7 separate regions of the Homo sapiens genome follow, and regions 2, 3, 4, 5, 6 and 7 are each linked to region 1. The links are contacts of gene promoters, found by promoter capture Hi-C in blood cells and fetal thymus (Javierre and others, 2016). All regions are on one chromosome and are shown on one strand. The core of a region is centred on a gene start or on the middle of the fragment in contact, and the rest is flanking DNA. Distances in the headings are between cores, read along the strand shown.

Region 1 (3,719 bases), core at 493-2,992:
TCAGTTTATCAATGAGCAACAGATATAGTAAGCAGCTCAATTACATCATTCTATACTCTGGAGCTAAGTGATACCGCTTTTAATCTAGTGTTTACTACAAGAAAATGACTGTCATTATTCTGAACTCCTAAACTAACATCTAGTTAGGACACTACAGAAACTCCTAGAGGCAAAGGAGCAGCCCTGTCTTAGCTGGGCAGATTAAGGACACTCTTTTGACTAATTGGATTTAACAATCCATTACCATCTTTCAAAAGGACAAAAGGGGTGCATTTTGTGTTTTAATCTCTTTGATAAAGATACAGCATTTGGGGCCGGGCGCGGAGGCTCACGCCTGTAATCCCAGCACTTTGGGAGGCTGAGGCAGGCAGATCCCGAGGTCAGGAGATCGAGACCATCCCGGCCAACGGGGTGAAACCCCGTCTCTACTAAAAATACAAAAATTAACTGGGCCTGCTGGCGCGCACCAGCTACTCGGGAGGCTGAGGCAGGAGAATCGCTTAAACCCAGGAAGCGGAGGCTGCAGTGAGCCGAGATCGCACTACTGCACTCCAGCCTGGCGACAGAGCGGGACTCCGTTAAAACAAACAACAAAAAAAGATACAGCATTTGAGCCGGGAGCAGTGGCTCACGCCTGTAATCCCAGCACTTTCGTAGGCTGAGGTGGGTTGATCACTTGAGGTCAGGAGTTCGAGACCAGCCTGGCCAACTTGGTGAAACCCGTCTCTACTAAAAATACAAAAATTAGCTGAGCATCCTGGTGCGCGCCTGTAATCCCAGCTACTCCGGAGGCCGAGGAGGGAGAATCGGTTGAACCCGGGAGGCGGAGGTTCCAGTGAGCCCAGATTGCGCCACTGCACTCCAGCCTGACGACACAGCGAGACTCCGTCTCAAAAAAAATAAAAAATAAAAAAAAATAGAGGTTGAAAGCATCAAGTTTTGAATGCACAATAGCTTGGCAGAAAAACTTTCACTTGAAAATTTGATGAGCAACTCCTGGAACCTTCACCAAGCAATTTTTGAAATATACCGAGTTTTGCCAGAAAACTCGTTTTTAACTCAAATAAGGAGCCAAGAGAAATAGTCTGCTTACTCATGCTTACACATTTTGGGAAAAATTACTTGTATACCAGTGTCTGACTCATTCCTCCAACTCTGAAAGGTCTGATGAGGACTTAGCCTCTCGGACTTCGTGAGGTGGCTAATTTACGGTTTATTCCTGGCCTTCCTACCTCCTCAGAAAAGCCAACTAGCAGGGCTCCACAGCAGGGACCGGCCGGCGACCATGTAATGGAACAGGAGCGCAGAAAGAAAGGGGGGCGGACTACGAAAAGTCATCAAGGACCACACAAGCTTTAATACAAAGATTGCACAATGAGCGCGGGGCGCGGCACACAATAAGAAGCTCTGGAAACGCACACTCTCTGACACCTCAAAGTTTTAGGGACTTGGATGGCTGCAGAAAAATATTGGCAAAGGGATTTTCTGGGGAGGCAGGAAGAAAACGGCCGCCCTGCGAGGCGACGACCAGGCGCGGGGGACGAAGGGACCGCTGGACCCACGCCCAGGCCGGGTCGGCGGGGTCGGCAATCCTCAAGGGGGAAATGGGGTCCGAGGCACGCCCCAGGCAGCGGGCCCCGCTCTTCGGCAGCTCCACTCACCAGGAACTGGAGCATGATGTCGGTGGGGAGGGCGAGGAGGGCGCGAAGGACTGCAGCAGCTCCGCGGGCCGGTCCGAGCCTACCTCCCCATGCGCGGGGGGGGCGGAACCCCTCGTCGACTTCCGGGTCACGCCACGCCCCGCCCCGCTCCTCCCACTCAGCCCGCGCCCGGAAACGACTTGCAGTGTCGCAGCGCCCAGGTTCCCCCTGGCGGAGCGCGTTGGCCTCACCGCCTGAACCGGCGGGGCAGCGAGCGCGCGACAGGACTTGCGAAGAGCAAGTCCCGAGCCTGGCTGGGCATCCTTGAGCATCCCGCCTCTGTAAACCTGGGCCGAGGCCCAGGAATCTATATTATTCTCAGCACGCGGACTATTCTGATACACAGCCCAGTTTAGGGCTCTCTAACCTAGAAGGACGGCATGAGCAGCGGGTCCCATCCCTAGGTTCGCAGCTGAATCGTGGGGGCTTTTGCAGCATCCTCTACTTGGGCCCAGCTGGACTTTGCGGGGAGGAAAGGAGGCTTGTAGCTCTCAAAGCTCCGCAGGTGTGCTGTGTAATCAGCGTTGTGTAATCAGGTGTTGTGTAATCAAGGTAGAGGCTGGGTACCGTATGGGGCCCATGCTGCCGTGTGCCGCACGCCAGTCACTGAGATGATGAGTTTTGTAGCAGAGAAAAGGTTTATTCACCAGGCAGCCAGCCGAGGAGACGGGAGAACAGATCTCAAATCTGCCTCCCCAAAGATGGGTTTTAGGGATATTTATGGGATAGAGGAGCAGGGTGGTCTGAGGTGTGGGGAAAGGCGGTTGAAGGTAAGGAAAAGTTTGGCAATGGGTTATCTGCGCGAGGTAGTCAAGCTTCATGGCTCTTTATAGGATACATGGTCACAAAATGACATCCTTAGCATGATCTGAGTGTGGAGGTTTTGGCCCTCTAATGTCAGAAGGACACCCATCGGGCTTTCATGCAGGCCCAGTTGAGAGGTTGGTGGTTTAAACTGTACAAGAACTGACCCCAACTTCCTGAAAAACAAGAAACCTTTATCAAGCAACCCAGATGTCAGAGATGTTATCCATAAGGAAGATAGTGGGAGCTTAGATATATATTGTTTAGCTCTGTGACTTTAGCTATGTGGGTTTTTTAATCCACTAAAAGCAGGTGACTAAAAACAAGTGAGAGAAGTTGCATTTGGCAGGCCTCATCAGGTTGGCTCTCAGTTTCACTGGCCTAGCTGGGTTTCTTGCCTGGGATGGCCATAGGTCCTGTTGACAATTTGTATCATCGCCACAAAGAGTCTGTTCTGTCAGTCTTCCGGTCTGTGTATGTGTGTGTTTTTTTCTCTCTTTCTCTTTTAAAGAATTTATTTTAAGCCTATTATACCACACAGTATGTTTTAAACACTAACTCCCTAATAAGATATATAACTCCCTAATAAGATAAAGCAAAGACAAAAAAAGTTCATCTTATTAGAAACAAGATACACCATCCCTTATTGTCTTCAAAAATTATTGCACTTTAATTTTCATAATTTGACAAAGCATTCATGAAACAATCTGCAGACTAGTTTTAACAGACAAATAACACCTGTAAGCAGACATGACTGTCCTAAATTATTAGGTACGAATTTTACAAACTTTTTTTTTTTTTTGAGACGGAGTCTCGCTCTGTCACCCAGGCTGGAGTGCAGTGGCGCAGTCTCGGCTCACTGCAAGCTCCGCCTCCCGGGTTCACGCCATTCTCCTGCCTCAGCCTCCCGAGTAGCTGGGACTACAGGCGCCCGCCACCACGCCCGGCTAATTTTCTGTATTTTTAGTAGAGACGAGGTTTCAACGTGTTAGCCAGGATGGTCTCGATCTCCTGACCTTGTGATCCGCCCGCCTCGGCCTCCCAAAGTGCTGGGATTACAGGCGTGAGCCACCACGCCTGGCCCAAACTTTACTTATATTAGTGGTAACGGTGGAGCTGGAGAGTATCACGCCTTCTCCAAGCTGCCCAGCAAGAACCATCAATAGTGTGGTGGAACTTATGGCACTTTCCAAGGCCACAGCTCCTTTGGCCTGC
Region 2 (3,719 bases), core at 904-3,403, 1.9 Mb before region 1:
ATAACTGGGAGCCTGGGATACTTTTGCTTCAGTTAGAAAAAACTATTTCTATAAAATTATATTAATACTTAGCTAATACTGCCCATATTTTATATTATACAGACAATAATCTGTACAATAAAGTGAAAATTAATGTCAAATTACATAGGCTGACTAATAACTTTTCTATATGGATTTTCATACATTAATGATAGTAAAATAAATATTATTCATTAAGGGCTTACTGCATTTTAAACACTGTGATGTACTTCTCAAAAATTATGGCTTTTAATCCTTGCAACAAGTCTGCAAACTGGGTATTCTTGTCTCTGTGTTAAAGAAAAGGAGGGCTGAGCTAAATGAAATGAAGAAACTTGCCCAGAGTTACACAGGTTAGATAAACATCTAAACTGACATTCAACCTATGGCTATCCATGACCAAAGCCCGTGATTTTAACTACTCTTCTATACTGCTTATAATTAGATATTATTTTATTTATTTATTCATCATTCATTCACTCACTTATTATTTTTTGAGACAGGGTTTCACTCCTGTCACTCAGGCTGGAGTGCAATGGTGTGATCTCGGCTCACTGCACACTCCGCCTCCTCAGCTGGGACTAAAGACATGTGTCACCACACCTGGCTGATGTTTGTATTTTTTGTAGAGACGGGATTTTGTCATGTTGCCTAGGCTGGTCTCAAACTCCTGGGCTCAAGTGATCCACCTGCGTCAGCCTTCCAAGGTGCTGGGATTACAGGCGTGTGCCACCGTGCCCTGTGTATTATTTTAAATAAAAGTATTTATTTTTTAAATGAGCAGTTATTCTTGGGAAATTTCTTCCTATTATTGCCTTTTTGTGTATTTATTTTTTACAGGGAACCAAAGTCCTGCAGATGTTCATGTGGTACCTGAATCCACGGCAAGTCTTTGATCTTTCTCAGGAAGGGCCAAAAGATGCGTAAGTCTGGAAATATTCTCCATGGTCCATATGTATTTTAGGCAAGTGAGAATTTTCTGCTTCATTATCTGATTACCTTGTGAGGTATATCCTGACCATCTGTCATCTACCTTCTCACCTGTACTCTCCTTCCTTTAAAACTTCATCCAAAGTTCTCTCCTACTCTTTATTGGCTTAGTTCCCTTCGAAACATATCTTCTCAGCTATTAACTCAGGATACGTCTAGTGTGTTTGTTACTTACGTATGTGTAACTGTAGGTTATTCTCTGCAAATCTGTGAATTGAGAAAGGACTCATTGTTTTTCTATTTCTTCATGTACAACTTTGGAGATGCACATTAATGGAATGTAAATGTATGTCTGTGGAGGGTGGAGCCATGTTTGTTTATGAATATTTGAACTGAAAAGAGAGAGTGTGTGTGTGTGTGTGCGCGCGCTTGTGTGTGAGAGAGAGAGAATCAATTGATTATACCTGAGGACTCTGCACAAATGTGGGGAAGACATATTAATTCCTGCTCAATCCCGTTTCTGAGCTTCTCAGAAATCTCATTCTCTGCTTTTGTTAGAAGTGTTTAAAATAAAGTCTAGATTGTAGGTGACCCATATCCTGCTTCTCTCCTTTGGTGGAGAGGCACACAGTGGAAAAGACCAAGGACACTTCTGCTGTTCTCTGGTTCTCCGTTTTAAATTCATGTACTAGGATAGTTCAGATGTTATCTGATAAATGTTAGAACACAAGGGTACCACTTATTTTTTAATAAGTAACAATATCAGAGGAAAAGGTGATTTCTAGAGAAATAGTATTCTTGTATAAAATGGATAAATTACTTATTTTAAGCATGCAGATTAGGAAATATGAAAATTAATTTGTTATTTTCTTAACGTATGAATTTCTTCACCAGTTGAGTTTGCTGCAAGATTCTTCCTCTCTCTGTCCCATAATACATATATATATATTTATTTATTTTTATTTTCTGTACTTGATTATGCTAAGGCAAATCTGCTATCCTGGGATGTGCCATTTTAGGAGCTTATTTTTCTTAAGATTTTATCACTTTAGTTAGACCCTAGAGAGACACTTCAGAGGTCACCGTAAAGAACATGGTAGGACAGGAAATATTTTCAGAAAAAAACCATATTTTGTGATTTAAATAGGTGATATTTTCTAGATTACAGCCTCTAGCAACTTCACCTAAGCAAAAGATTTAGCAGGGGCAGTGTCAATGCATTTTCCTGAGATCCAAGAGGAAAGACAAAATTATCTTATTTCAAGCAGAGAAGTTTGAAATAAATAAAAATCAGTCAATCTTCCCACTTTGGGTTGGAGGTGTAAGTGGTGTGTAACTGAGCTGAGAGAAAGACTAGATGGAATTGTAGATGTGATACCTGTGTTCACATCTGAGAGTGCGGAAGCCTCCCCGTCTCGCTGAAAAAGATTTCTTAGGATTAAGAGTAGAAAGTATAAGTTAGAAGAAGTAAATACATCCAGGGAAAACTAATAAATATAAAGAGGGGATATATAAGGACTACTGATTATCAATTAATGATGATTTTCTTGGGGAAAGGGGAAGAGGAAATGATGGGAAAAGAAAAAGAAGGAAGTCAAAACTAACGAGGAAAATAATGTTGACATATAATAGAAGTTATGGGAAATAAAACTAGGACATCCTAAAATCCCTTAAATTCCAACGTTGAATTATTCATTCAAAAATAATGTCTGATGCCTACACCTGTTCCACTGGTGGGAGTCATTCTTCCTGTGGTTACTTGGGACCTATGATAGCATTGTCATCCTCATGATTACACATTTTCTCCAGCGGACACCACCCCTACCTACCCATGTTGTCCTCTGCTTTCTCTCTGCTCTAGCCAGTGAAATGTTCTTTTGTTTACTTTTTCTTCTATTTCCTCTACAGGCTTGAATTGTATAGGAAAGTACCAAATCTGCGAATTCTGGCCTGTGGTGGGGATGGAACGGTAGGTCCCTGAGAGAGAATCCAGTTCTCTGCCAATTCTATCTTTCTTATTGTTTTCTTGTGGCACTTCTTTTTATTCGTTGCTCAGTCTTTCTAATCCCCTAACACATGTATATCTCTCATGTGAATCATAGCCCCTAAGAGTAACAAGGGACTTTGTTATTGTCCTTATGAATACATACTTGATCCTTCTAATGTGTGCTTCACTCCTTCAACTATGCTGTATTCTTTTGTGTGCCATGAAGTAGGGATGTGGTCAAATCCTTAAAATGAAGATTATAGATAGATAAATTCCTTTTAAAATATAAGCTGAACTGTTTCCATTTATTCTTAATAATTTGGCCACAGTAGGGAGAAATACGTGGACACAATTGAATTATTATGTTTTTTTTTTTACTAGTGGGAATAAAACTCAGAATATTGAGTGTTGTTTTGCCTTAAAGATTATTAATTGGTCCTATTTATGTTCTTTTTTGTTGACATACTTTACCTGTATATGGGGTATGTGTGATATTTTGTTATATGCATAGAATGTATAATGATCAAGTCAAGGTTTGGAGGTATCCATTACCTAGGCTATCATTTCTATGTGTTGGGAACATTTCAAGTTCTCTTTTCTAGCTACTTTGAAATATATAATACATTGTTGCTAACTGTACTCACCCTACTCTGCCATTGAACATTAGAACTTATTCCTTCTGACTGTATGTTTGTATTCATTTATGAAAAAAAGGTGGAATTGGGCTGAAGGTTAATATCATGGATATATTTTCTCCTGTTTATTATGCCTCATCGGTTTTCTC
Region 3 (3,719 bases), core at 366-2,865, 1.9 Mb before region 1:
GGTGTTTAGAATTTTTGCATACTTTGGAATTTGAAATAACAGAGCACTAAAAGCTAGAATTCAGATTTTCAGATTCTGGTAATAACATGAAAATTCTGATCATGCACTTATGCACTAGAAGTCAAGAGTGATGCTACAGGATTAAAAACCACTAGAGTATAAAATACAAGTAAGGAACAGATCTTTAAAGTCTCTTACTGGATCCAGCAATGTTAGCAGACTTTGACCTTCCTGGTTTCCCAAGGTTTTGAGAGGACAGGCTCTGTAAAGGTCAAATTCTGTGCCAAGCAGGAATGATGCTGTTTGAAGAGAAAGCCATAGTTTGGTATTCCTCTCTGATTGGCCAGAAAAATCACAGCTAGAAGGCATGATTGATAACAGAACCTCAAATATCCTGAGTCAGAAACACTACCACTTTCCGCCTCCCTGCCTTAGACAGTTCTTGGATATTAGGTATTCAGAGGGACTTACCTTGGGGCCAACATTTATGACCTGTTACCCTTCTTATATTTAAGGAGAGTTAATTTGGGAAGTACATGGGGGATTTTATTCTTCATTTCTTACCCCATTTTTTATCTCATATTCTTTAGCAGGATCCAGATCCTGGGCTTCTTAATAAAATACCCCAAACTTCTTAATAATACTTGTAAAGTAACACAATTATCACAAATACATGGATTTCCAAAAATAGGCATGAAAAGAGGTCTAAATGAATAAGTGGCCAACAATGAGCTCATTCAATGAGCTCAATGAGCTCAAGTGAGTCTCATATTTAGTCTAACTTATCCGGAAGTTTTTCTAATGATTCACTTCCTTGAACTATGATGAAGTTTCTATGCATCAGAGTGAGAAGGGAGCAGGGAGAGACCCTTACATGGGAAGACCAGGCTTAGAAGAAAATTCTTTTGGGGAAAGTGATTTTTCTCTTTTATTTTAAGCTGTAGGACTATTTTAGAGTGGAATATGCAAATTGTTGAGTGTATGAACATGTACATTTATATGTATGTGATTATAAAACAATTAGTTAAAGATGTCAAGCATTAATCTTTGTATAGTTTATTGCTAAGGCTTATTGTGTTTTGATGCAGTATGAAATGGAATTGTAAACATTTCCCCTGCATGTAAATCAGAGCCTTTGAGGAAAATCAGCCACTGAAGGGCTGTTAAGGGAGAATTTATGTTAATTGGAAATAATAGGTAAATATTCATGCAGGTGGGATAGAGGTGGTAAAAAAATTAAATAACTATAAGATATTGGAACCAGATTTTGCTGATACACTTAGACCAGAGGTATGGACTTTTCAGTAGCTGTTATTCTGCTTTTTTTAAATAGTAAATTAAAAAATTATTTGTCTATGAAATATATAATTAAGCAAATAGCCTTTTTTTCTTTCTTTTTTTTTTTTTTTACTGTTTCTGTTCATTTGTATTTTCCCCCTATTTTTAACTAGTTAGTCAAGAAATCTTAAGCTAAGCTATAGAAGAAAAAACAGGATAAGCAAGACCAGATTTTTAATTGTGGCAAGCTTACTTATTTTGTCAGTAGATAGTGAGTGGCTGTTCTCAAACCAAGAAAACTCATAGTGAGACTTTAAACTGTTTTCCAACACAGGCACTGTCTGCGGCTTCATGGATCACTTGCCATAAAATACCTAAAGGGTAACACAAAGGCTCATGAAAGCCATTGTGAAAAAAATAAGCTTGGATAGTAGAATCTATGAGGTATTAGTCAAGAAAATGTAATACTTTTAAGTTGAGAATTATGCCAATACATCTACATAAAAATAGGCAATTAATATAAATCTCATTAAAGGAGAATTTTTAAAAATTTAACTATGGAAAGAATTTTTAGCACAGATGTAAATATAGCCCATCAAATGGACACTTCTCAGCATAACTACATATATTGTATTTCTTTTAGAAGGAATAATTAAACTGGCATTAATTCCCAATTTTATATCTACTTTATTCCAAACACAAATCAAACTCAAAAACATGTTTAATTACATTTGGAAGCTGCATACATAGCTTACGGAAGTCATGCCCTATGAAAGTCAAAGTAAATAATCGCTTCTCCACCTTCTTCCACCTTTTCCTGTTATCTCAGCCCGATATCCCTGGAAACCCTCCAATTTTTACAAAGCATCTAGAGTGCCTCCATCTTTAATGTGCTTGAGAATCACCTGGAGAGCTCCCCTCCACAGATGTATAGACTCCACACTCAAGTCATTCTAATTCAGTAGATCTGGCTAGGGCCTAATCATTTGCAATTCTAACAAGCTCTCAGCTAATGTCAGTGATGCCGGTTTGGAACTACACATTTATAGTCCTGGATTACTGTCCCTGTAGCACTGGGCTACTGTACTAACTGGCCTGGAACTGGGGGAAAGATGATAACCAAACCATGGGATCTATTGGATCTGTAGGATAGGAGGGAGCTGGGGAGGAAGTAGGAGTGCTAATCTAAGTCGCTACCTTTAGTGAGGTCTCCATAACAAAACTACTTTTCCTCTTTCACAGAAGCAAATCCAGAGAAATTCAACAGTCGTTTTCGAAATAAAATGTTCTATGCAGGGGTAGGTATACATTTTATTTCATAATTACTACATATTACTTATTGCCAATTCACTGTGTATCATAAAGTTGCAAACTACATGAGAAATAATCACATATACATCTCATTTATATATGTCTATCTATGGTTACTGTTTCATGGCTGGGCTTAAGAATGAAAGTGAGGTGTATTTCTTAAGTTAGCTGTCAGAAAGAGAGTTGGTGTTCCTCATCTCTGAGCTTTTAAGCAAGCCCCGAGGCTTCATGTTGAACAAGAGAAGATGCTATTCAAAAAGGGATGTGAGAAACAAACATCAAAGCCAGTGTAAGAAATGGAGGAATTGTGTAGACTGAGGATGTCTGAAGAATTTTAGGTAAGAACGTAGTTTTCACCAGGGTGCGCACATTGACGTTTGGATTAGAAACTGGCAGAATATGGGGTGTTTTTCATGGACGCATACGTGAGGTTAAAGGGAGTGCCTTCTTTTTCCTTCTTTTGTTTCTCAGGCACGTTCATAGTAGTAAATAGAGAATGAAAAAAAGGCATCCAAAATATCAGTACAGTTTAAATTTATGCCAATCGATAGGAGGAGTTTAAATAAAAGGCGTTTGGGAGCTGCATACGTAGTTTATGGAAGTCAAACCCTGTGAAACTCAGAGCAAATAAGGAAATCTTAGTGGAAAGACTGTATCAGCACTTAATGGACAAGGCAAGTGTTCAGAAAAGGTTGTCAAAATAAACCTTCCAATGACCCTCAGAATTGTCTATTTTTCACTCTCATTCTGTGTTCTTAAATTTATAGTGAAACTGTAAATTATAGTTTGGAAACAAAGAGAAAAATTTCAACTTGACAACTACTGCACTGCTTTACTTTGGATTCTGCAGAAAGAGAACATGTTTAGAATTTTTGCATACTTTGGAATCCTTGGAATCTAGGATATGGAAGCAAGGATTTGGTATCACCATGTAATTACGAATTTCTTCTTCTTTATTTCCCTGTGGTATAGGCAGCTTTTTCTGACTTCCTACAGAGAAGTTCTAGAGATCTATCCAAACATGTTAAAGTTGTTGTAAGTATTGAATATGTTGATTTATTTAATTTGAATATGATATGACTGCCACAAAAAACTCCCAAATACTTAGTTTATATATTGAATCACTGGAC
Region 4 (2,569 bases), core at 1-2,500, 1.5 Mb after region 1:
GACAAAGCCAGACTCCATCTCAAAAACATAAACAAAATAGAAAGGAAGCAAATTAAATTACGCTTTTGAAAGAAAGCAATTTATTAGAAGCCAAGAGAAAAGAAGTGATGTGATGAGAAGTGGAAAAGGACAAGAAGACAACAATGGACTAAGAAAGGAAAAGGACCATAATAAGCATAAGAAAGAAGAGGAATTGTGTGGTGGTCAGAAGAGATATTGTAGAAAGGAGGGAATGGCAGTCATGTGAAACGCGAAGCCGCCATCCCAGTCAATATGGGTGGGATGATGGGAACATTCCCCACATCCTAAAATATTCCCACAATGAGCTGGCTGTTCGAACATTATAAGGCTCTTTTCTGGTGTGTGTGCATGTTGCTTGTATAAGGCATATGCCCCCGACAGAAGTAATGTATTCAACTTTTAAGTCACTTAGTCTTTGAAGAAGCACTTTCAAAAGCGGATTTTTTTTTTTTTTTTTTTCCTGGAGGGAGGCTGACGGGACTAGAACTGAGGAAGAGTGTGGAAGTATGTCATAGCCATGGGCAACAGGTGCTGGCAATGTCAGAGATGAACTCTGCCTATTCACAATACTGTCAAAGTATAATTTTGAAAAAGCTAAAGCCATAATTCCCAGACAATTATCTAGACACTCTTACAAAGTGACGCTGTGTTAACTCGACTCATAAGAAATCAAATGTGTTAATGAAAAAAGAAAGGAACTATTTAGAGCTATTTCAGGCAGGGGGTGAGAAAACGGGGTAAAAGACAGGGGAAGAAAAGAGGGGGAAGAGGCGTTCCTGGAGGCGAGAGAGCCTGAGAAGGTGTGGGAAGCTTCGGGCTGGTGGGGGTGCATCGGGGAGCTGCCGCTGAAGTAACAGGGCTGGACGAGGGAGCCAGGGAGTACGGGGTGGGGGGGAAGACACACCTCCAAATTCAGCATTTCGGACTCTGAGGACTCCTCGGATCCCGCCTCGCCCTCGCCCTGGTCCTCATCTCCGTCCGAGTCCAGCTCCTGATAGCGGTGCATGAGCTGCTGGAGCAGGTAGGAGGAGGCTATGTTAGAGCTGCCTTTCGTCTTCTGCCCCATGGGAAAAGACCAGCAAGGCTGACGCTCTTTTTCTGCGCGAAACTGTAACGATCGGGCTCCAGTTCGGGATCTGCCCAAGCCTCTCAGGAGAGAGGCAGCTCTGGTCCTCAGGAGAGCCCTCTCGGAGGTCGCCATCTTGTTTAGCGGGGTTGCCTAGGAGACTGACCCCAGGCAAGGGGAACCGCGGAGGATTCTGGGGCCTGTAGTCTCCTCCGCGCGTACTCGCCTTCTGCAGGCGGGGCAGTGGGCGCTCCACTTGACTTTTCTTTTTCTCAGTCTCTTCTGTTATTTTTCTCTCTTTGGTCTGTTCTGTTCGCTTATCTTTCCTGTTTTCACCTCTTTTCGCTACACCCCCTTTCTTTGTCTCCAGCTGTTTCCTCCCTACCCTGAGACCCCTCTTAGAGCTTTGTCATCCCACGATAGGATCGCAGGTGCGCCACCGTTGCCGCTTCATTCCCAAAGGGCTCTTTCCGCAGAGTCGTACTTTAGAAGTGTCTAATGTCTCTAAAGCAGTCTGTAGGAAAGCTAGTACCACTGAAATTTATGCAAAGCGCGACGCTAGGAGATGAGGGTGCATATAAGTGAAATAGAAGGCATGGTTCCTGTCCTTATGATTTAATTGCAGATAATAAAGAGAAACTACCAGACGACGCCTGAGAGCTGATTTCCAATTAATTTACATTCCCCACCCCCACCCCCCAATGATAAGCCTTGTCCTTGGGGAGAAAAACTGGCAGTGGTCTTACAATCCAAACAGAGAGAGAAAAAACTGCTGTCAAATTGACACTGTATCTGAAAGCGTCTGAAAAGCTATTAGCATCCCATAAATAATTATATTAGTCAAGTGACCTGCATTGGCAATTATTTTAATCTTGTTGCACAGGCTCTCTTTGCAGTTAAAAAAAATACTCTTTCAAGATAACAAAGCACGATTTTATGCTAGTGTGATTTTATGTGACCCAAATCCCATAGCCTTAAGCTCCACAACGTCGACACTCTATAGAAAAGCAGAATGAAAATTATAGTAACTATTATTGCCATAGTGATGACAATAGAGATCCTTGCAGGGAAGTAGCCCTCATCCTTCTGGCCTTACAGGGCCTTTTCTGCACGCTTCAATGACAGCAGTTGCAAATACAAAATGATCCTGTCAATGGCTGTCAGGGGAGAAGGAGAAAAAATCCTTATGGACACCATCCATTGACGATTATCTTTCTCAGTGCTTGAGGGACCGTTAAAACTGACATAAAGCTTTCAGAATTACCTTCCTTCATTATCTTGCTAGTCATAAATGTAAAGGCCACAAGCAAAATATCTCTTTCTGCCAGGCTCATCTTGCTTTTTGCTTATTTCTTTTTCCAATAAGTAGAGATTCCTCCAAGGGAATTTTCCCCACCCTTACCCTCGTAGGGCCTGGCTTCGGCTAAGTGACATAGGGAAGAATCAGGCAGAAAGTGTAAAAATGCAAATCTCGATCGTTTT
Region 5 (3,719 bases), core at 825-3,324, 1.4 Mb after region 1:
GCAAGATCCTAAATACTGGTCATCATATTTGCCTTTTTCACTCTGTGGCAGGCGCTGTGTTAAGTGCTTTTCAGGGATGGCTCATTTACTCTACAATAAATCAGAGATAGGCACTCATATGGTTTCCATTTTAAAGATAAAAACACTAGACTTAGATAAATTAATTCACTTCTGTCACATAGCAAGTGACAGAGCAACATATCGCATGTCGGTGTGTACTTTTAAGCACAGTGGAGCATAGTGGTTCTCAACCTTGTGTCAGCACCTGAGAACTACCTGTGCATTCACATATACAGCGACACATGCACTCACATACACTCTCAGCCCTTTCCCTGCACCTTGACTGGTATTTCTCCAACCTGGCTGCATGTGACAATCAAGTGGAAAGCTTTTAAAAGTACAGATTCCAGGGTCCTACCCCAGACTAATCAAATTAGAAGTGGGAGAGTGAGCCTCTTTGGGTAAATAGGTTTTTTTGTTGTTGTTGTTTGTTTTTGAGACAAGAGTCTTGCTTTGTCACCCAGGCTGGAGGGCAGTGGCATGATCTCGGCTCACTGCAACCTCCACCTCCCAGGTTCAAGTGATTCTCCTGCCTCAGCCTCCCGAGTAGCTGGGATTACAGGCATGCACCACCACATCTGGCTAATTTTTGTATTTTTAGTAGAGATGGGTTTCACCATGTTGGCCAAGCTGGTCTCGAACTCCTGACCTCAGGTGATCCACCTGCCTTAGCCTCCCAAAGTGCTGGGATTATAGGTGTGAGCCAGCCACCGTGCCGACCATTTGGGAAACAGGTTTTTAAAAAGCAGAGTAGGCTGGCCCGAGTTCCAAAGCACCGTGCTAGGAACCATCTAGAGTTAAAGTTCCTTCTGTCACTCATATTTAGGCTAATGGTTTTAATTAGGTCCTTGAATGAGGTAAATGTCTTACATGATTATTTATGGATTCCTGCATTTAGCCTTGTCCTTTGAACATAAGAAGTGCTAAAAGAGAACTTGTTGAATTGAATAGAAAGCAGTTTTCAAGGAAACCTTCATAGGCAGCAGAGCTTAAAGAGTAGCAACATTTCTGTTTCAGTTAGTAAGCCTAGTTCTGTAGAAGAATGGCTCATGCCTGTATTGTCTTATTTTTGTGCCTAATGGGTATATTTAAGGACTTGTATATCTTGGCATTGCTGTATAATACTAATACCAATGGAGAATGGAGTCATTTCTGGTAAGTAGCAGTATATTAATATGTAATAATACAATTACATACCTCTCACCAGCTTCAGGTAAATGCCTTTGGTCAAGATGAAAATACAGAGGCCGGGTGTGGTGGCTCACGCCTGTAATCCCAGCACTTTGGGAGGCCGAGGCAGGTGGATCGCAAGGTCAGGAGGTGGAGACCATCCTGGCTAACACAGTGAAACGCTGTCTCTACTGAAAAAAAACAAAAAAATTAGCCGGGCCTGGTGGCGGGCACCTGTAGTCCCAGCTCCTCGGGAGGCTGAGGCAGGAGAATGGCACGAACCCGGGAGGCGGAGCTTGCAGTGAGCCAAGATGGCACCACTGCACTCCAGCCTGGGCGACAGAGCGAGACTCTGTCTCAAAAAAAAAAAAAAAAGATGAAAACACAGAATACGAAGGCAGGTGAATATTGGTATTATAGGAAATCTGGAAGCTTCAGGAGAGCAAAGATAACTGCTCACTTTGTTCTTCTTCCAGCGATTGAGCAGAGCTGAATGGAAGACAAGCTCAAGAAAACCTGAACATTTTAAATGACTAGTTTTCAGAGTGCCTCAAGATGAATGTCAGGAGGAAGTTTTTAACTTTGTAAATTTGTTCCTAACAATCACTGTTGAATGTGGGGAATCTTCCCCAACTGTTTCACAGATCACTAAAGAGACTCTATTGAATTCCACAAACATTTTTTGAGTGCCTAATATATTCAAAACACTGGGTTAAGAGCTGTAGAGAATAGTAGACTACGGCAGTGTTTTTCAGTCTTTTGTTCATTATGCCTCCTCCAGAATACTTTTTAGACGTTGTTTTCTTAATCCCTCCCCTGCCATAGATATAGTGTGTACTGGTTCAGGTACTGTATGTATATTTGTACTTTATTGTTATAAAAAGAGTAAGATATCTCCCCCATCCCAAGAACCAATTTTGCCCCGTTGCTGGGCACCATTTAAAGTAATGTTCCTATCATCAACACTGGGTCCATTTTTCGTTTGACAGCAGTCTTGGTGATTCCTGGTCAGGAGGGATATATAAACATTCCAGGAGACCTGAGCATATTTCTGTCCCTGGGCTTTGCTACCTAAGCTGACTGGGATCCTGATTAAAGACCTTTCTGGTGAAGCAAAGATCCCAATAAGAACATATGACCAATTTCCTGCAGTTTACTAGGAAAGCTGTATCGTAGTTCTGGGAACAAGTGTGTCGTCACAGTAATTCTCACTCATGGCCTGATACACGCAAGGAAGAGTTAAATAAGAAAGCTTGACATTCTTCTCTGTGAGATCAATGCTAAGTATATGTGATCCAAAGGCTATGAACATTGAGATAAAGGACAGTGGGTAATTGAAATCCATCCACGCTGTTATTCTGGCCCTCTAATTAGAATGCATTTTAGTGTTCTGTATCTCAGTTTTTGTGCCTTCACCCCCTCTTTTATTATTCACTATACAGGAAGCATCCAGGATGTGGGAACATTGTGACATTTGCACAATTTTTATTTATTGCTGTGGAAGGCTTCCTCTTTGAAGCTGATTTGGGAAGGAAGCCACCAGCTATCCCAATAAGGTATGGTACATTAGAGTCTCTTTTAGCTTTTGGATTTTTTAAGAAAGTAAAGAGGTGGTACCTGTATAAAAGGAGGATGAGACATTCTTTTATAAGATTTATTTCAAAGATACCAGTAGAATAATAAGTCATTTTCTGAATTTAATATGTTGTGAAAATCCGGGGTACCTACTTCGAAAATAAAATTTCTGCCACAAGATTTAAAATAACCATGATGGAGACAAGAGTGTGTATGTGTGTGTGTTCTTATTTAGTATAGGATTAGTCAGAAGGCCTAGTGTGACCACAAATTTTGTGCTGTCTTCTGTGTTGGTGAAGTTATCAAACATTCTAAAAGGGGAGTATCCTTGTTTCTTTTTAAAAACGAATGGCTTTTGGAAATAAATAGAGGTAGTAGTTACATAACTTTGTGAATGTACTAAATGCCACGGAATTGTTCACTTTAAAATGGTTAATTTTATGTTATGTGAATTTCACCTCAATTAAAAGAAAATGAATGGCAAGCAAAGTCAAAATTTGTTGATGCCAGACCTGTAGTACATTAGTCCAAATGTGCATAATTGTACTCATGGGGCCAAATAGAAAACAGGGCAGTTCTTATGTTAAACAGTGTATTGAAAACTCAGCCTTCTTGCTGAGAGTGACTTGAGATAAAAGTGTAATCCATCCAGTTGTGAGTATTTAGTAGGATGATGTCACTTACTCCCGTTTAGAGCGACATTCTGGTGTGAATATATCCAAGTATGAAGGCAAAGGCCCATCTTTGTTGGTTTTCTTTTGCAGCATTCTTACGTAGCCTGCTATAGAAAATCTGGCTGAATTTTGTTAATATTATACTTTTAAAGTTCCCAGTGCGATGCTAAATATTCCAGATACTTTTAGTTTTTCATTTGCTTTAGTATCTGCATAAAACTTTCTGCCCCTAAAGACCAG
Region 6 (3,719 bases), core at 526-3,025, 1.2 Mb after region 1:
CTTTGTGACAGCTGGAGGAGGCCCTGCAGGCAGGTGCAGTTCCTTATTCTCCTGGGTCTTCCCATGCCGTAGCGGCTGTGTTGTACCTTTCAGACCCTCAGCAGGGCTCTGGTAGTCTCTACTCTTGAAGGTCCTCAAACTCCATTCTCTTCTCAGGTGAGGGTTTCAGGCAGATGGGGAGACCATCTCTGCCCCAGACCCATGTGGCTTGGACAGGGTTTCTTTCTGGCAGTCTTGCCTTCTACATTGGATAGTAAACAATTACACCTGTAATCCCAGCACTTTGGAAGGCCAAGGCGGGTGGATCACCTGAGGTCAGGAGTTCGAGACCAGCTGGCCAACATGGTGAAACCCCCTCTCTACTAAAAATACAAAAATTAGCCCGGCATGGTGGTGGGTGCCTGTAATCCCAGCTGCTTGGGAGGCTGAGGCAGGAGAATCACTTGAATCCAGAAGGTAGAGGTTGCCATGATCTGAGATTGTGCCACTGCACTCCAGCCTAGGCGACAAGAGCAAAAAAAAACTCGGTCTCAGAAACAACAACAACAACAAAAACCCATCACAGCATTGTAAAGCCAGGAAGCTTTTAAAACAGAGATGATGTCTGGTGCCCACCAGTGTCTTGTTACTGATAGTGTTTTTAATCTAGTTGAAAAATTGTTGGAGGTAAAAGTCATTGTAAGTCTCCTATGTATGCTCACAGAATACTCCTAGGGCTGAAGGTACAACTATGTTTCTCCATCTTTTGCCATGATCACTACCTCCCTCCCACCTAGGAGCCTTGTGAGACTTTTTTTTCCCCTAATTTGCCCCAAAATAAAATTGTAATATCAGAGATAATATTGTACTTCTGCTTATGGCCAGTAGCCTTCTAGAGGGTCACAAGCTGTTCTATAAGCTGAGGGGGGTTTTTTTGCCCCAGAGAACTAATTTTTGTCTCTTTGGGGACAATAGCACCCACTTTAAGAATGCATGAGGTAAAAGAAAATGTGCCAGGAAAGACTTGCTCCACCTTCCCCAAGTGGGGTAAGCTTGTGATGGCCCAAGATCCTTGGATGGGGTGAGGGTTGAGGCGCTGTGGGCATGGAGGTAACACAGGAGCCAGATTTACTGTTCACTTCCCTGGTGTCTCTAAAGCCCCCATCTCTTCCTCTTCAAGACCAAAGACATTTAAATAAGCCCTGCCCCTACAGGGTCAGTCCTGGTCCATGCACATCTCAACTAGTTGGAAACAGCAGTGTCTTAGAATTTGGGACAAATTGATTAAAACAGAACAGGAGGAAGTTAATTTCTGCTGCCAAACCTGATTCTGAGTGATCGTTTCCTGTTCCTTGCTCCAGGATTATCAGCACAGCATTCTCATGCTTCCTACTCAGGACCGTTTCTTTACCCAAAGTGAAGTTTCCTTTGCCCCCTCCCCTTATCCTTTGATTTCAGTAGTAACACCTGCTAACTAGAGAACATTTCAAAAATGAAGAGTTCCCTGTTCCCAGAGATCCCCGTGGTTAATATTGCAAAATATCCAATCTCTGAGATACTTTGGTTTTACCATAAACACTGTCCTGTGACCGTCTTCCTGTTTAGCACTGTGGCTTGCTTTTTGACTTGCAGAGGGAAGAGAGGGAGGGGTATCTTGAAGTAACTAGCAAGACCTGTAAGCAAAAGGGAAGAAGACTAGGTTTTAAAAGGAGTGTTGTATCTGTGTAGGAGGGAGACACTGATTTTAGTTATCAGTGTCTCAGAGTTGGTATTAGCCAGCCGGTGTTATCAAAGGAGGAACTAGGACCGCTGTCTTGAAGGAGGTGGTGGAGGACTCAAGGGCAGAGGCTTCTCACTGCCATCACTTGGTGCCATCAGCCCAGAGCATTTCAAGTCACTGCCCAACGTAGAGCTTTGCAGAGCCAGAAGTTCTGGGAGGAATGGGCATGCATGGTTTTGCCCATCAAGGGCACACAGATTAGTGGCAGGATCGGGTTAGAAACATGTAGGATTTGTATGATTGAGCTGTAATTGGAGTGTTTCATATACTGCATTTCTACAGCTCTCATCAGTAATGGCTGTGCCTGGATGCCACCCAGCATGTTTTCATAGTTTACCTTCTTTTTAGAAGTCAATCTGGACCCCTCCTTCTGTTTGCATTTTCTCTTTGTTGACATGGAATGGGGAGATGTTGTCATCCTGTGTTGGCATTCCCAAGTTTAGTGAATGGTTTCTCACCATAGCTTAAGTTGGCTGCTTCATTTTTCATAAGGCAAATTAGTTTCTCTCAGGGAAGGGCTGTACATTGAGATCATTAACATAGAATGTGGTTGTGGATCCTCGTACATTTTCATTGCAGAGGTGACTTTTTCCCTCCAGCACCTTTGATCAGCCTCCCAGCACACATGTCTCCAGCGAATGGCACATATCCAAGGAATGATCAGCAGCTTCTTCGTGACCTCTTGCAGTCATTGCTGTCTTTTACTTTTCTAGAAAAACCTCTCACAACTTTTTTTTCATGTCGTGCCAACGCAAGCTTGATTATCCTAGTCTGTGCTCTTTTGGTTCCAAAGAACTGAAAAACCACTTTAATCTTAAGCAGGAAAAAAAAAAGTGTGTTTGGGGTGGGGATTGATTGACTTCCCCAAACAACAGCCGCTGACATTAGGTGTTTGAGATTCAGGGTTGTAAATGTTGTCACCAGGATTTGGCCTCCCTCCACTTTCCTGCAGCAGCTCCAGGCTGACATTCTCCCAGCTCAGTGACCCCAGCAGAACCGGGGCTGGACTCAGGGGTTCCAATTCAAGTGCAAAGATTGAGTCTTATGGCCTGGATTGAGTCATGTTCCTGTCCCCGCACCAGTTGCATGGCAGGCAGTGCGTGGCTAGGCTGAGCCTGCGGAGTGTGCCCTCAGCAGCTCCTCAGAGAAAAATCAATCAAGGCGCCATCAAGCCTGGAGAAAGTTCAGTGTGTCCTGGGCAGTTTCCTGCCTGGGCCCCAGTTGTTCTTTCTGGGGTAGGGATGTCCTCTGCTCTCCCTGCTGTCATCAGTGGTGGTTGTGCCCGGACACCACTCAGGGCCTGTGGTAAGGCATTCTTTCTGGAAATTGAGATTCTCTGTTCCTTCAACCGTGCAGAGTGGGGAAGGCTGCAAGAGCAGCTTCTGAGGTCCTCCAGTCAAATAAGAGGTCGCCAGGTCCTCTGAGGGTCGTCCCCTCTTAACCCACACCTTCGATGAGCATCCCCACCCTGCCTCGCTGCTCCCTCTGAGGTGGAGAGTGAGCTCCATGCTAACAGGCTCTGGTAACGGGCTTGTTCAACTGGGCCCCTTTCTTCCCCAAAGCCTGTTGAAAATAGCTGATGTCAAAACACAGATGTCTGCAGCTGCTATGGCCCTGGGGGGTTTTTCTTTTCATTTGTTTCTACCCCAGCTCTCCAAAGGAATGTGCTCTGTTCATTCAACAGCCCGCTGCACATGTTTATTGCTCAGCTCTGTGATCATAGCAGGATAGTGAAAGTTGGGGGATACGTGTCCATGCAGCCTACCTGGGTGCCAGTGAAGCGCGATGCCATGTAGGCACTTCCTCCTCCTCTTCAGTAGCCAGGCTCCCCACAGCTGTTCTGGTTACTCAGATGGTCAGGTGGCTTGGCCATGGACACCCATTCAGTCATTTTGCCAGGTCAGCCACTAACCATTTGGTGATCTTCCATGATCCACATTCCCCCTCGTTTCCCTTTAAC
Region 7 (3,719 bases), core at 894-3,393, 1.1 Mb after region 1:
TGAGGCCATAATTGGGAGGATATAGGCAGAGAGGCCACAGAGGATGTAGTTGAGGAGACAAGGGAAGATTCTGGGGGAGGAGGAGGGTTATAGGGTGGTGGAAATGGGTGAAGAAAACTTTCCTCTTCTTCAGAAGGAGGCAGTACAGGAGGAATCGAGGGAGCTGAGGGTGGAGGCAAAAGTGAGGTCTGGCTAAAAAGGACCTTGGAGGTAGGATCACGAATGGCTACAGAGTTTTATCACGAGTGGAGCCATGAAGGAGAGCTCTGGACTAAATCTAGCCATTGATCAATGTAGGGAAACTGATCGGGGTGACCGGGAGTTCCAACAACGACCCACCACACAGCCTGAACAGCTGTGAAGTGTAGTGACCCGTCTGGGGGCCACCCAGTTCCAAACTTTGGCCATTCTACTTCGCAGAGTGTCCAGAGTTTGCCTTTTTTAAGGCGGACCCCGTAATCATCTGAGAAGCCTAGAGAGAAATTCTGCAACATACACTGGAGAGGACTCCAATCTTTATGGGGCCGGGAAGAAGAGTTTACTATTCTGGAGGCAATTAACAAGGTTTGAACAAAAATATTAAACCCAGCATGGACAAAGATATTCACGGCCTGGGAGGCTATGGTATCAGAAGAACAGAAGTATTATAGCTAGAAGAAGTAGGAAAACAACTATAGCCAATATTTCTTGCCACATAAGGTCTGTCTCCTCAAGCTTCGAGATCTATGGAGAGGATAAGAGGTGGGTCCAAGGGATCCTCAGCCAGTGGGACTTAGGTGACCCCCCCTTCTTGACTTATATCCCAAATAACTTTGGTGTCTCCACGACTCGAAAGCAAAATGTTCAAACTCGGTCCTTTCCTTCACGGGTTTAAGGAGGGAGAACACAGCCAAGTCTTAGAGACGCTGGACTTGCTGCAACACAGGAAAATGAGATGTGCAGGGTAAGGGATGGGGATGAGGAGGAAAGGGGCCACTTGGATTTCCCTAAAGGTTGGAGAGTAGCCAAAAGAGGTAAAATAAGAGTCCAGACAGAGTAGAGCAGTATGGGTGTAGGTTTCTCTGCACAGTGCCTTATTTAAGGGCATGGGAAAAGTTATGGGATGACAGAAAAGGTGAGTAAGGAGGTCAGCAGGGTGGCTATTTTGGATCCACCACTGGTCTAAGGAGAAGGTGGACCAGTCGTTGGGGCGTGGGGTATGGCAATCCAAACGCCAGCAATCTTTATGGTGCCAGAAATCCTAAACGGGTGAATGTCTTCCACACCCTTCCCCATAACAACACCTAATTTGTTTCTGACAGGAAAGGCAGGACTGGGATGGCCAGCCCAACCGACTAATGAGGAATTTGACCTCCTGGGATAGAAAATCTGTACTAAGGACCTTGAAGAAGTCCTTGCCCAGTCATTTTGGGCAGTATCGACGATCCGACATATGAAATTTAGACAGACACTAAACAGGACAATAGGCACTGGGGTATATAAACAAGCATGGCAATTTTTATAGACAGACAAGGGGAGGGGGTCCCGTGATGGGATCAGTCAGATGCCCTCCTGGCTGCTCCCCTTTCGGGGACTTAGGCTCCTCTTGGCATTGGCAGGCTGGTATAAACCCCTGGCTTGGATCGAGCTATGCCTGATGCCGCCCTAAGCCTTATGAGGTCACCACGGAACCACAGGTGAGGGCCTTCTCGAATTCCCTAGCTTTCACCCTGGAGCTACAAACTGGAAATTCAAGCGCAAGCCCTTGAACTCCACATTCACTCACTCACTCACTCACTCAGAGTTTATTACAATTTTTATACCCATTCTAAAACAGAGATCTCCCGGAGACCTGAATGAGAGAGGGAGAAGAGATAGAGAGAGAGAGAGACTAGACTTAACAGAGAATCCTGACAGAAACCAGGACTCTGTCCTCCAGTGTCCTGGAGCATGGACAGAGTCTGAGGGAGGACCTTCGTCAGGGCCGTTTCCCTCCCAGAGAGACAGAGTCAGATCTGACTTACCTTCCCGGGACTAGAGACTGAGGACTCAGGAGTTGAATTTGGCTGGGCGCACCGGCAGTCGATCCGTTCCCCTCCAGAAGACAGTGGCCTGTGGAGCCCTGGAACGTCTTCAGGTGGCCCTGTAAGCCAGCTGTCTGTCTGGGGAAGCCCGGAATGAGTCAGGTCTTCACCCGGTGGCGAATCTCTCTGGGGCTTCCAAATGTCGTAACCGAGCAAGTCATAGAGAGAATGCCACACTCTGAGACTAATTCAGGAGTCCTTTATTGCTGGCGACTGAGAAAGAGCTAGAGCTTGAAATTCTCTCGGTCCGGAAGAAGAGGCTAGAGTTCTTTTTATACCTTGGCCTAAAGAGGGGAGGGGGAGTCTAGCTGAAGCAATTTTTTACAGAAGCAGAACAGGAAAAAATTAAAAGATAAATGGTTACAGAAACAGTTACAGGAAAATAAACAGTTCCAGGTGCAGGGGCTTAAAGTATCCCAAAGTGATAAAAGCAGGGGCTTTGGATACCACCAACCAAGTGTGCTCCCAGGAGCTGCTGGTACAGCTTGCCTCAGTATCTTATCAATAAGCGCATTCTTGGATGTGCTTGGAGTCAGCTTGCACCAGTTATGTCCTTAAGGAGGGGGACAAGGGGCTGCAAGCGAAGAAACCAAGCTAAGACTCTCTCAGCTATTGACTCTCTCGATATTGACTCTCAATTGAGTCTCCCAAGCTATTGACTCTCTCAGCTAAGAAAGAGTCAATCAGGATAAAACAAGATAGGGTATCACAATTTGATCTGCAAGATTATTTCCTGGACTTGTGAAAGGCGAGTCGTTTTGGTGCCCTGGGACATGTACAATAGCTATCTCTTCTGGCAATTGGAGATTGTTGAGGACACGAGCATCAGTTCTCTATGAACTAAATCTTGGCCTCTACTATTGATAAGAGCCCTCTCCATCCAAATTTTCCCAAATGTGTGTGCCTCCCCAGAGGGATACTTAGAGTCAGTATAGATAGATTTTCTTGGTTTTGTAAATGTCCTAAAGCTTGGCTGAGTGCAAACAGTTCACACCCTTGGACAGACCAATTATTAGACCCCCTTCCTGATTTTACTTTTTTAACAGTCTTTCCATTAATCACTGAATACCTATTATGTCTCTTTCTTTTAATCACCTGGGAGGTTCCATCTATGAATAAGTGCCACCCTGTCTTGAAGGGAGTTTTTCCTAAGTCTGGTTGAACTTTCGTATGGTAATTAATTCGATTTAAACACGCGTGCTCTCTCGTTTTACGTTTGGATCCCCCGTTAAAGAGCCTGCTGAATAAAGTGAATTATTAGTACTTAATATTAAATCACCTTTTTCCCAGAAAGATAGCCTCATATTTTAAAATTTTTGAGTTGGTAATCTCCCTCCTTGCGTTTTGATTTAATATAGTTTTAACTTGGTGGGTTGTGGCCTGAAGCGGCTGGGGAGTAACTTGAAACCTCAGCTGAAGGGACAGCACAGGCTGGGGCGTGGCCTGAAACAGCTGGGGAGTAACCTGAAACCACAGCCGGAGGGACCTGAGAGGGGAACCAAAGGGGCAGGATTGGGGGCGCTGAAGGAAGGAAGGTGATTTAGAGGATCCCATGTCTTGGTAGGTATGGGTTGTCTAGGCATGGGAACTCTTTCCTTTTTAGAAAGGTTGGTTTCTGATTTTCTCCCTCCAGAGTCTAAAGGGTAAAGGAGAACT

What was found. Contacts are between HindIII fragments. The CHiCAGO score rates a contact against its expected background, and 5 or more counts as called.
Region 2: a fragment that was not itself captured here is called in contact with the fragment with the promoter of STMP1 in region 1 in 1 of 17 cell types (M1 macrophages); the score reaches 7.7 in M1 macrophages.
Region 3: a fragment that was not itself captured here is called in contact with the fragment with the promoter of STMP1 in region 1 in 1 of 17 cell types (endothelial precursors); the score reaches 7.4 in endothelial precursors.
Region 4: a contact is called between the fragment with the promoter of LRGUK here and the fragment with the promoter of STMP1 in region 1, in 5 of 17 cell types (naive CD4 T cells, non-activated CD4 T cells, naive CD8 T cells and 2 more). The highest score is 7.1, in naive CD4 T cells.
Region 5: a fragment that was not itself captured here is called in contact with the fragment with the promoter of STMP1 in region 1 in 5 of 17 cell types (naive CD8 T cells, non-activated CD4 T cells, naive CD4 T cells and 2 more); the score reaches 8.5 in naive CD8 T cells.
Region 6: a fragment that was not itself captured here is called in contact with the fragment with the promoter of STMP1 in region 1 in 4 of 17 cell types (naive CD8 T cells, total CD4 T cells, total B cells and 1 more); the score reaches 6.8 in naive CD8 T cells.
Region 7: a contact is called between the fragment with the promoter of AKR1B15 here and the fragment with the promoter of STMP1 in region 1, in 2 of 17 cell types (total B cells and total CD4 T cells). The highest score is 9.6, in total B cells.

Annotation. Positions count from the first base shown.
Region 1 is chr7:135,660,537-135,664,255 of GRCh38, reverse strand. It overlaps STMP1 (short transmembrane mitochondrial protein 1), which reads right to left and starts at 1,742. Exons shown (of 3, transcript NM_001130929.2): 1 at 1,662-1,742. The coding sequence starts at 1,676. It also overlaps the pseudogene RPL15P11. RefSeq lists enhancers at 1-483, 484-1,008 and a silencer at 1,648-1,867. The HindIII fragment of the contact is 1,162 bases long and covers 1,356-2,517 here.
Region 2 is chr7:137,597,045-137,600,763 of GRCh38, reverse strand. DGKI (diacylglycerol kinase iota) reads left to right here. Exons shown (of 33, transcript NM_001321708.2): 11 at 859-941; 12 at 2,857-2,917. Among named protein-coding and RNA genes, the nearest start is that of DGKI, 250 kb to the left of the region's middle. The HindIII fragment of the contact is 8,119 bases long and covers 1-3,719 here.
Region 3 is chr7:137,577,127-137,580,845 of GRCh38, reverse strand. It overlaps DGKI (diacylglycerol kinase iota), which reads left to right. Exons shown (of 33, transcript NM_001321708.2): 16 at 2,521-2,576; 17 at 3,562-3,624. Among named protein-coding and RNA genes, the nearest start is that of PTN, 240 kb to the right of the region's middle. The HindIII fragment of the contact is 174 bases long and covers 1,529-1,702 here.
Region 4 is chr7:134,126,021-134,128,589 of GRCh38, reverse strand. It overlaps LRGUK (leucine rich repeats and guanylate kinase domain containing), which reads right to left and starts at 1,250. Exons shown (of 20, transcript NM_144648.3): 1 at 926-1,250. The coding sequence starts at 1,222. RefSeq lists enhancers at 968-1,237, 1,348-1,397. The HindIII fragment of the contact is 1,507 bases long and covers 834-2,340 here.
Region 5 is chr7:134,308,433-134,312,151 of GRCh38, reverse strand. It overlaps SLC35B4 (solute carrier family 35 member B4), which reads left to right. Exons shown (of 10, transcript NM_032826.5): 2 at 2,673-2,786. Among named protein-coding and RNA genes, the nearest start is that of SLC35B4, 6.6 kb to the left of the region's middle. The HindIII fragment of the contact is 820 bases long and covers 1,665-2,484 here.
Region 6 is chr7:134,452,409-134,456,127 of GRCh38, reverse strand. All of the region lies in intron 1 of AKR1B1 (aldo-keto reductase family 1 member B), which reads left to right. Among named protein-coding and RNA genes, the nearest start is that of AKR1B1, 4.8 kb to the left of the region's middle. The HindIII fragment of the contact is 1,484 bases long and covers 1,034-2,517 here.
Region 7 is chr7:134,547,534-134,551,252 of GRCh38, reverse strand. It overlaps AKR1B15 (aldo-keto reductase family 1 member B15), which reads right to left and starts at 2,143. Exons shown (of 12, transcript NM_001080538.3): 1 at 2,004-2,143. LOC105375520 (a long non-coding RNA gene) reads left to right here. Exons shown (of 3, transcript XR_928005.3): 3 at 1-3,719. RefSeq lists an enhancer at 2,073-2,132. The HindIII fragment of the contact is 2,317 bases long and covers 717-3,033 here.